2 separate regions of the Homo sapiens genome follow, and region 1 is linked to region 2. The links are contacts of gene promoters, found by promoter capture Hi-C in human tissues and cell types (Jung and others, 2019). All regions are on one chromosome and are shown on one strand. Each heading gives the region's core, a stretch centred on a gene start or on the middle of the fragment in contact. The rest is flanking DNA. Distances are from core to core; before and after follow the strand shown. Region 1 overlaps MOV10L1 (Mov10 like RNA helicase 1). Region 2 holds the start of IL17REL (interleukin 17 receptor E like).

Region 1 (4,586 bases), core at 1,106-3,605, 86 kb after region 2:
AATATTCCATTGTGTGAATAAATCACATTTTGTTTCTCCATTCATCTGTTGATGGACACTTGGGTTGTTTCTACTTTTTGGTTGTTGTGAATTGTGCTGCCATGAACAAGTCTGTCTGAGTCCTTGTTCAGTTCTTTTGGGGCTACGCCTAGGAAGAGAATTGCTGGGCTGTATGGTAAGTCTAGGTTTAACTTTGTGAGGAACCAGATGTTTTCCACAGCAGCTGCACCGTTATATGTTCCCACCAACAGTGCATGAGGCTGCCACTTTTTCTGTATCCTTGCCAACACTTGCTATTTTCTTTTTCTTTTTTTTTCTTTTGACAGTAGCTATTCCTCGTAGTTGTGAGGTAGTATCTCACTGTGGTTTTGATTTGCATTTCCCTAATGATTTGTGAGGGCATCTTTTCATGTGCTTATTGGCCATCTATATATCTTCTTTGGAGAAATATCTACTCAAATCCTTTGCCCGTTTTGAAATTAGGTTGTTTTCTTGTAGTAGGAATTCTTTATATATTCTGGATATTAATCTCTCATCACATACATGATTTGCAAATACTTTCTCTCATTTTATCAATTGTCTTTTCACTTTCTTCATGGTATCCTTTGATGCACAGATGTTTTAAATTTTGGTGGAAGTCTAATTTGTCTCTTTTATTGCATGTACTTCTGATGTCACACTCAAGATACCATTGACTAATCCAAGATTATGAAGATTTTTTTCTACCAAGAGTTTTATAGTTTTTGCTTTTAAATTAAAGTCTTTGATTCATTAAAAAAAATTTTTTGAGACAGGATCTCACTTTGTTGCCCAGGCTGGAGTGCAGCAGCACAGTCACAGCTCACTGCAGCCTCAACCTCCCAGGCTGAAGTGATCCTTCCACCTTAGCCACCTGAGCAGCTGGGACTACAGGTGTGTGCTGCCTCACCCAATTTTTGTATTTTTTGTAGAGATGGGGCCTCTCTATGTTGCCCAGGCTGGTCTCGAACTCCTGGGCTCAAGTGATCCGCCCATCCCACGCCTTTCCAAATGCTGAGATTATAGGGGTAAGCCACCACGCCTGGCCTCTTTAATCCATTTTGAGTTAATTTTTGTGTTTGGTGTAAAACGAGAGTCTAACTTTATTATTTTGCCCATGGTTATTTTCCCAGCACTATTTTTTTTTGAGACTGCACAATTGCAGTTTATTGAATGGTCCTTGTCAAAAATCAATTGACTGCACATGCAAGGGTTTATTTCTGGGTCTCTTTACTATTCCATTGGTTTATATTTCTGTCCTTACACTGGTGCCACACTAGTTTGATGACTGTAACTTTGTAGGAAGTTTTGAAATCAGGAGGTATGAAACCTTCAATTTTGTTACTCCTTTTCAAGACCATTTTGCCTATTCATGGTCCCTTGAGATTCCATTAGAATTTTAGATGAGTTTTTCTATTTATATAAAAATAGACCCATAGGACTTTGATAGGGATTGCGTTGCATTTGTTGGGTTTTTTTGTTGTTTGTTTGAGACAGAGTCTTGCTCTGTCACCCAGGATGGAGTGCAATGATGTGATATTGACTCATTGCAACCTCCGCCTCCCTGGTTCAAGCAATTCTCATGCCTCAGCCTCCCAAGTAGCTGGGACTGCAGGTGCTTGCCACTACACCCAGCTAATTTTTTTTGTATTTTTAGTAGAGATGGGGTTTCACCATGTTGACCAGGCTGGTCTTGAACTCCTGACCTCAAGTGATCCACCTGCCTCAACCTCCCAAAGTGCTGGAATTACAGGCATGAGCTACCACACCCAACCTGAATTTGTGTAATAGATCACTTTGGGTAGTATTGTCATCTTAATAATTAAGTCTAAGATTGTCATCTTAATAATAATTAAGTATTAAGATTAACATCTTAATAATAATTATTAAGATTAACATCTTAATAATCACATAATCACTTTGAGTAGTATTATCATCTTAATAATTAAGTCTTAAGATTGTCATTTTAATAATATTAGGTTTTCCAATTCATGAACGCGGTTGTCTTGCTGTTTATTGAGGTATTTAATTCATTCATTAGTGTCATTTTACGTGTCTTCCATCTCCTTAGTTAGGTTACTAAGTGTTCTGAGGAATTAACCTATTAACCTAACAGTGCTGTTATAAATGGAATTGTTTTCCCTTTCTTTGGATCATTTTTCTTGATTTCCTTTTTGGATTTTTCATTGCAAATGTATGGAAATCTGATTTTTGTATGTTGACTTTGTGTCCTGTGCTGGATTCATTTATTAGCTCTAACCATTTTTTGTTTCATTTACGTGTGTGGAATCTTTAGAGTTTTCCACAGATGAGATCCTACCATCTGTGAATAAAGATAATTGAAATTTGAAAGTCTTGAAGTAAGCATGGGCATCCTTGCCTGGTTCCTGATCTTAGGGGAAAGCTTTCGGCCTTTCACCATTGAGTGTGGTGTTTGTTGTGAGATTTTTGTTTATGGCCTTTCTCGTGTTGAAGAGATTTCCTGCGATTCCTAGTTTATTGAGTGTTTGCATCATAAAAAGTGTTGATTTTGTCAAATGCTTTTTGTGCATCAGTTGAGATCATCGTGATTTTTTCCCTCATCTTATCAATGTAATATGTTGACTGATTTTCATATGTTGAAACACTTTTGCATTCTGGGATAAACCCCACTTAGTCATGGGGTATAATCCTTTTAATATGCTGCTGCATTTGGTTTGATAATATTTCATTGAGGATTTTTGCATCAGTGTTCATAAGGGATTGCTATAGACTCAATGTTGGTGTCCCCCAAAATACGTATGTTGAAATCCTGACCCCAGTGGAATCTTATTAGGAGGCTTTGGTGGGTGACTGGGTCACAAGGGCAGAGCCCTTATGAAACATACCCCAGAGAACCCCTTTGCCCTTTCTGCCATGTGAGGACACAGCAGGAAGACACCGACGGTATACCAGGAAGAAGGCCCTCACCAGACCCGGAATCTGCCAGGGCCTTGATCTTGGACTTGCAGCCCTAATGGTCTCAGACAGGCATGCCAGCCTGTAGTTTGCTTTTCTTGTAGTTCTCGTATTATGGTTTAGAGCGGTGTGTTTGTTTTACAGGTAGAAGCTGTCTCTGATAAGTGGGAAGACGACAGCAGAAACCATGGGAGTCCCTCAGACTGCGGCCCCCGAGTGTTGATTGGCTGTGTGACTTCCCTGGTGGAGGGCGCAGGCTGTATCAGTCAGACCACCTACTTCTCTCTGGAGAGTGTGTGCGAAGGTATGCTCAGGGGTCTGTGTTCCACATTGAAAATTAGGTTTTGTCTTTTAAAGAATTGTTATGGACCAGGCACGGTGGCTCATGCCTATAATCCCAGCACTTTGTCAGGCTGAGACAGGAGGATCGCTTGAGCCCAGGAGTTGGAGGCTGCAGTGAGCTATGATCCAGCCACTACACTCCAGCCTGGGTGACAGAACACAACCCTGTGTCTATATTTGTGATGGCTACACACAACATTGAAGGGATCAGTTTTGGGCATGCTTTGTTTGTTGAGAGGGTTTCGGGATTAGAGTAGCTTCTCCAGGTGCTGGCTTCACACAGAGGCTCTTGGATATTGAGTGGACTATGGGAGAGGGCACCAGGTCACTGTTTTGTTTTTTTTGTTTTTGTTTTTGTTTTTGTTTTTCGAGATGGAGTCTCACTCTGTTGCCCAGGCTGGAGTGCAGTGGTATGATCTCAGCTCACTGCAACCTCTGCTTCCTGGGTTTGATTGATTCTCCTGCCTCAGCCTCCTGAGTAGCTGGGATTACAGGTGTGCACCACCATGCCCAGCTAATTTTTTGTATTTTTAGTAAAGATGGGGTTTCATCAGGTTGGCCGGGCTGGTCTCGAACTCTTGACCTTAGGTGATCCACCTGCCTCGGCCTCCTAAAGTGCTGGGATTACAGGCATGAGCCACCACACCCAGCCAGGTCACTGTTTAAACTTGTGCTTTTATGTGTTTTGTGTTCATTTGTTAAATGCAGTCAGTAATTTCTGGGTAGTTGTTGCTTCCATATAATTATAGTGTTATGATCTAAGTTAGTGTTACTGGCATGCTGAGGTACTATTTAAAGTACTTTAGATGTTTTAAAATAGGGCTTGGGGATGACATTGTACGTTTCCTAAAGTATATATCCTTTTTCTTTCTTTCTTTCTTTCTTTTTTTTGAGATGGAGTCTCACCCTGTCGCCCAGGCTGGAGTGCAGTGGCACGATCTCAGCTTACTGCAACCTCCGCCTCCTGGGTTCAGGCGATTCTCCTGCCTCAGCCTCCTGAGACTACAGGTGCCCACCACCACAGCAGGCTAACTTTTTGTGTCTTTAGTAGAGACAGGGTTTCACCATGTTGGCCAGTCTGGTCTTGAACTCCTGACCTTGTGATCTGCCCGCCTTGGCCTCCCAAAGTGCTGGGATTACAGGCGTGAGCCACCACTCCCGGCTTTATATATCCATTTTTTATTGCATTTGTTTTTGGCTGATCAAAGGATTTGTTTTTATACCTAAAGAAAGAATATGTCGATGTCATTGACTGAGCTGAACTCAGCAGCGGTTTACTCTACTCCTGC
Region 2 (4,970 bases), core at 2,072-4,571:
GGCGTGGGAGCTGAGGTCCGAGAGCACAGGGTGGCACTGGCGCCCTCAGAGCAGGGCAGGACCCCCAGAGTCCAGGCCCCCTGGGGGCGGCCACTGAGCCTGGGGTGTTGGACTGTGCAGCCCGCGGTCAACACAGCCGCTCCATTCTTGAAAAGAGCTGACCCTCTACAGACCGGACGGGGAAGCCCAGGCTGTCGGGGTGGGGGTGGGGGTGGGGGGAGCTCAAGATGGAGACCTGGACTTCTGCTCCTAGCCCAGGTGGGAACACGGAAAAATAAAAGTCGGGCCCACTTCTGTTCCTTGAATTGTGGAGCGGGCATTACCGGTGGCTACACCTCCTTCTAAATATTTTTTATTTTGGAATATGTTTAGATTTACAGAGAGTTTACCCAGGATCCCCTCATCTCAACAGTTTCCCGTGCATCTGCAAAACCTGGGGAGCCACATGGGTGGCGGCAGTCAGTGACCCTCAGTCTGGTGTGGAATCGGCGGCAGTCAGTGACCCTCAGTCTGGTGTGGAATCGGCGGCAGTCAGTGACCCTCAGTCTGGTGTGGAATCACGTGCTACTAGTGAACTGTTTTCTGTTCCAGGGTCCAGCGCAGGACCCCACCCTGCAGATGGCCTCTGAGTCTTCGTTCTCACCCCACCGTCTCTACCCATTTGCCGACCACCCCAATAACTCCCCAGAGACTGCCGTGAGTGACCCTCCTCCGCCTGCCATGGCCACGAAACCCGCCGCCCGTGGGCGGAGTATACAGGCTGGACCCAGCGTCCTGATGGAAGCCCCGGCCTCGGCCCCTGGTGGGGAGCAGGGCCTCAAACGAGGGGCCGGCGGAGCTGACCCCAGGCTGCTGAGGGCTCCGCCCAGGCAAAAGGGGCCGGGCTCACCCGGGGCAGCCTCTGGGGAACGGGATCCGAGCAGGCCTCAGGTGGGCAGGCGAGGGCAGCCCAGACCAGCCCGGGCACAGAGGGAGCGGCGGAGGCAGCGTGGGGAGGCCCAGTGAGGCCGCCTGTGTGGAACTGCAGGGGGGCAGTGGCGTGGGTCCCCGGGCCTCCCTCCCGCCAGGTGCCCTGAAGCCCCTCTGGGCGCCCACTGTGGCCTGGACTCCCCGCATCCACCTTCAGGAGAGAAAGAATCCCCGCTGGGGGCTCGGAGGCCGGGGTGGGCTGGAGAGGCGAAGGGCGTCTGCTCTCTCTCCTGACTTCCTGGACTCTGAAGCCCACCCAGGGCTGGCCCCGTGGCCCGAGTGTCTGGGGCTGCAGGAGAAGCCGCTGTCGGGGGCGCGGAACGTCGCGCGGTTCTGCCCCGCCCCTGCCCCACGGCACGGGGAGCGGGACCCGGGCGCGCTGGGGGGAAGGTGGGGGGAGCGGGGGCGGGGGGGGGCTGAGCCCGGGCGCTGGGCGCCTCCCCCGCACGGGGTTTTCCGTCGTGCTTCTCGGGGCTTCCCAGCGGCCGGCGTCGGGGGGTGTGCAGGGAACCCCCAGGGCGGCTGCTCGCGGCCCCACCCCGCCCAAGCTCCCCTGCATGCGGCCCAGCCTCCCGCCGTCACCCGCGCGGGTCCCCCCCCAGGGCGCGGCTGTAGCCCCAGCCTCCCCTCCCTGGCTTCCCCCCGCGGGCAGGGGCTCCCGCGCCCCCTCGCAACCACCGCCCTGTCCAAGGCTGCCCAGGCAGCGCCCCTACACCCACCTCCAGCTTCCCGCTCCTCTTGTCACCCCTTGACCCCTCCTGCTCAACCCTCCCCACCCCATCTTCCATGAGACCCTCCCTCAGCCCCGCCAAACCCCTCCTCTCCTCTCCCCTCCAGCACTTCCCCTCCTTCCTGGCCTCTTCCACCCGCCTCAGCCCCTGCCCTTGCCCCTGCCCCTTTCCTTGGAGTACTGAGGGTTCAATCTTGGTCCCCACCCATTCCCCAGGATCACCTGGCCGTCCTAGCGTGGACAGCGCGGTCACACCTCGGACCGGGAGGCTGCCTGCATACCCCGCAGCCGCCTCAGCAAAGCTTTCCAGCTTGCACTTCAAGGCCGCCTCCCCCCATGTCTCCCAACTCAGGGACCATTTCCTCCCAGAGGCAAAAGTCGATTCTGAGGTCTCATCTCTCGCTTCTCCTTCCCCCTCCTAGCCAGGATCCCCAGGCCTGCCCCCTCCCTGTTTTCCATCTCCACTGCAGGGTGGCATCCGGTGGACACCCCTCCCACCTGAACCCGCCCATCTCCCCTGCTGCCACCGGTTCCCACGCATCCCAGCCTGCTTTCTTCCTTGTTCCACGAATGCCCTGTGGATCTGAGCCTGCCCATGGCACCCAGCACTCCAGCCCTTGCTGCTCCCCTCCCTGAGCTGAGCCCTCTGCTGGACCCGTCTCAGGCCCTGTGGAGCTGCTGGATGTCCCCGCAAGTGTCCCCTGAGGTGACCAGGCCACCACCCTAAAGGCACATCTTGCTAACTGCTGTCCCCATGCCAGGAACGGTGCACCCAGCAGGTCCTCAGTGAGTCCTCCCTTTCCGGGACACCTTCTGTGCCCTTTCCATGCCTGTGTCCCCACTGTGCCCGGCCAGCCTTGGGCACCGGGGCCCCTTCCTGGGATGCTGGGTACACTTCCTGCTGCAGGTGCTGATGAAGCGCCCTCTCCTGTAAGGCTGAGTGAGTGGGCTGTGCAGTGAGAGCCCTCCACCCCAACCCAGCCACCTCCACTGCCAACATCTCATTCTCAGCACGTTCTCCGAGTGTTTCCTTGGCAGGTGTCTACACAAGCCCAGGTGTTGCGGGCTCCCGATGGCTCAGAGCAGCCGAGCGGGGTGGGGTGGGAGCCCCGGATGGGCTTGCGGGCTGCCCTAGATTCTAACACAGCCTCCTTGGAGGTCACAGGTGGGTCCGAGGTGGGCTCACCCTGCCTTGAGCTTCCAGCAAACACTTCCCGGAGCAGCTCGGCAGGGTCAGGCCAGGTCTCCCATCCTTCTTTCACCAGCGCTGCCCTCGGACCCCCCAGGGCCCTGCAACCCCTCACCTGCTGATGTGCTGAGAGCGTCAGGCCAGACCCACCTGAGGAGAAACCAGGGCCTTATCTGCCACAGTGTAGGGGCCTAGGAGGAGGCAGGAGCTTACCTGAGAACAGGAGAGGCCACATTCTGTAATCCGGGGGATGGCCAGGCTCTGGAAAGTGCCCCAGGTCAGGCCCAAGAACGCGAGTGCTTGCCCAGCCAGCATCTGGCTGTGCAGTGAGAGCTCCCACTGGTAAGCGTGGATGTGAGTGGGGCAAGTTTGCAGGATGCCCTGTGGCAGCGGCTCCAGGCTGACCCTGCAGCTCCAGCCCCAAAGACAAACAGAGGGTGGAGGCTGCTCTTCACAGCTGGAGCGAGCGAGACACTCCCCCTCCCGGCAAAACAGGGCTCGCTTCACAGACAGCAGCCCGGGAGACTTTCCACCGCCTGGGGCCAGAAGACTGTGGCCAGACACTTGTGGAGTTTCTAGGTTTCCAAAGGAAGCATCCAGAAACCTTGGGGCCTTTGGGGTCCGAGGACACCCTAATGGGGTTCCCCACAGGGCGGCCACTGGTGCAGAGATGGCTCCAGGCCGGCGGGATAGGCTGCCGCCGGCGTGCACCTCCCTCAGGCATGCATGAGGCCAGGAGGGTAGACAAGGGCCCTGGAAAGCTGGCTGGGCTGGCAGAGGGGTGGAATCTGTCCTGGGCACTCATACCCCAGAGCCCCTGGCTTCAGCCCCAGCCCCTAAGGGGAGCCCTCTCCTAAGACCTGAGATTCCACCCAAGTCCCTGGCCTCCACCTCCCCTCAAGATGCAAAAGGCCACCTCCCCTGTGTGGTCCTCCCTATGAGCCCCCCCCCACTCCGGAGGGCACCCCCCGAGGCTGGGAACTCTGGGGCCCAGCCTCTGCTCAGGGAGCCGTTCTGTGTCATCTTCTTATTTGGAGCATCAAATGCATAGGAAAGTTTCTGGGCAGAAGCTTACTGCTTCCCATTTGCCTCCAGCCAGGGCAGGGGGTTGGAGAGAACCAGGGTGCAGTTCTTGGGTCCTCCTGGCTCCTCCCTTCCTGGACAGGCACAGAGGCTTCTGCACCTGCCTCAGGTTCTGGGAGGGCACTGCCCCACGTGTGTGTGTGTGTGTGTGTGTGTGTGTGTGTGTGTGTGTGTGTGTGTGTCTGTGTGTGTGTGGGGGGGGGATGGCGGGAGTTAATAGCTGGGGAGCCTGGGAGTGTCTAGCTGGGGTGTTCTGCCTGGAATACCCACAGGACACCCCAAGTGTGGAGGGCGGCACCACCCCCAGGCTGGGAGAGGCTGTGGGCCTCACACTGTGGGCTCGGGTAGTCAGGAGGGAGCTTGAGAAACAAGCTCTGGGGTTCGGTCCCAGGGGAGGGAAGGCGGCAGGGGCTGCTGTGACCGTGAAGTCCTCCCTCCCTCCCACCACCCCGCACTGCCCACCTCCCTGCCTCCTGGGCCAGCACCTCGACCCTGCCCCCGCCTGGCCTAGAGCCCTCCATGGGCTGGAACTTATGCACTCACTGCTGGGCAGAGTAGATGGGGCTGAGCCCGCCCCCTGCAGCAGCGTGCCTGTGGCCACAATGCCCTGGAGAGAGTGGCTAGTGCCAGCCTCCATGCCACGGCATGGTCAGCAGCAGGCAGGCACATTTGGGGGTGGCTCAGGACGGGCCACTGTCATCCCCTATCCCAGGCTGGCTGAGCTGTAAGACAGATACTCCAGCTGGGCCTCGCCCCTCAGCCTGGCCTCCAGCCCTCCTTATACCAGGGGACGATGGGGGCTGCTGTACTGTGGCAGGGGTGTCCCAGACGATGTCCATGGGCACGGCCAGCAGGATCATTGGGAAAGGACAAATGTCCCTCCCCCATGGGCCCACTCACACCCAAACCTCTCTCCAGGCCTCTCTGGGACAGGCCCCCACCACGACACACCCGTTGCCTGAAGGCGCCATCCCAGCGTGCCGTGACGCAGGCAGGGGC

What was found. Contacts are between HindIII fragments. The study calls those that stand out against the background at their distance.
Region 1: a contact is called between a fragment that was not itself captured here and the fragment with the promoter of IL17REL in region 2, in 2 of the 25 tissues and cell types used here (H1 embryonic stem cells and IMR-90 fibroblasts).

What each region holds. Positions count from the first base shown.
Region 1 is chr22:50,096,344-50,100,929 of GRCh38, forward strand. MOV10L1 (Mov10 like RNA helicase 1) reads left to right here. Exons shown (of 27, transcript NM_018995.3): 3 at 3,100-3,259. Among named protein-coding and RNA genes, the nearest start is that of MOV10L1, 8.6 kb to the left of the region's middle. The HindIII fragment of the contact is 9,728 bases long and covers 1-4,586 here.
Region 2 is chr22:50,009,444-50,014,413 of GRCh38, forward strand. IL17REL (interleukin 17 receptor E like) reads right to left here and starts at 3,322. Exons shown (of 15, transcript NM_001371417.1): 1 at 3,102-3,322. The coding sequence starts at 3,203. RefSeq lists silencers at 1,313-1,632, 1,643-1,692 and an enhancer at 3,207-3,807. The HindIII fragment of the contact is 6,785 bases long and covers 437-4,970 here.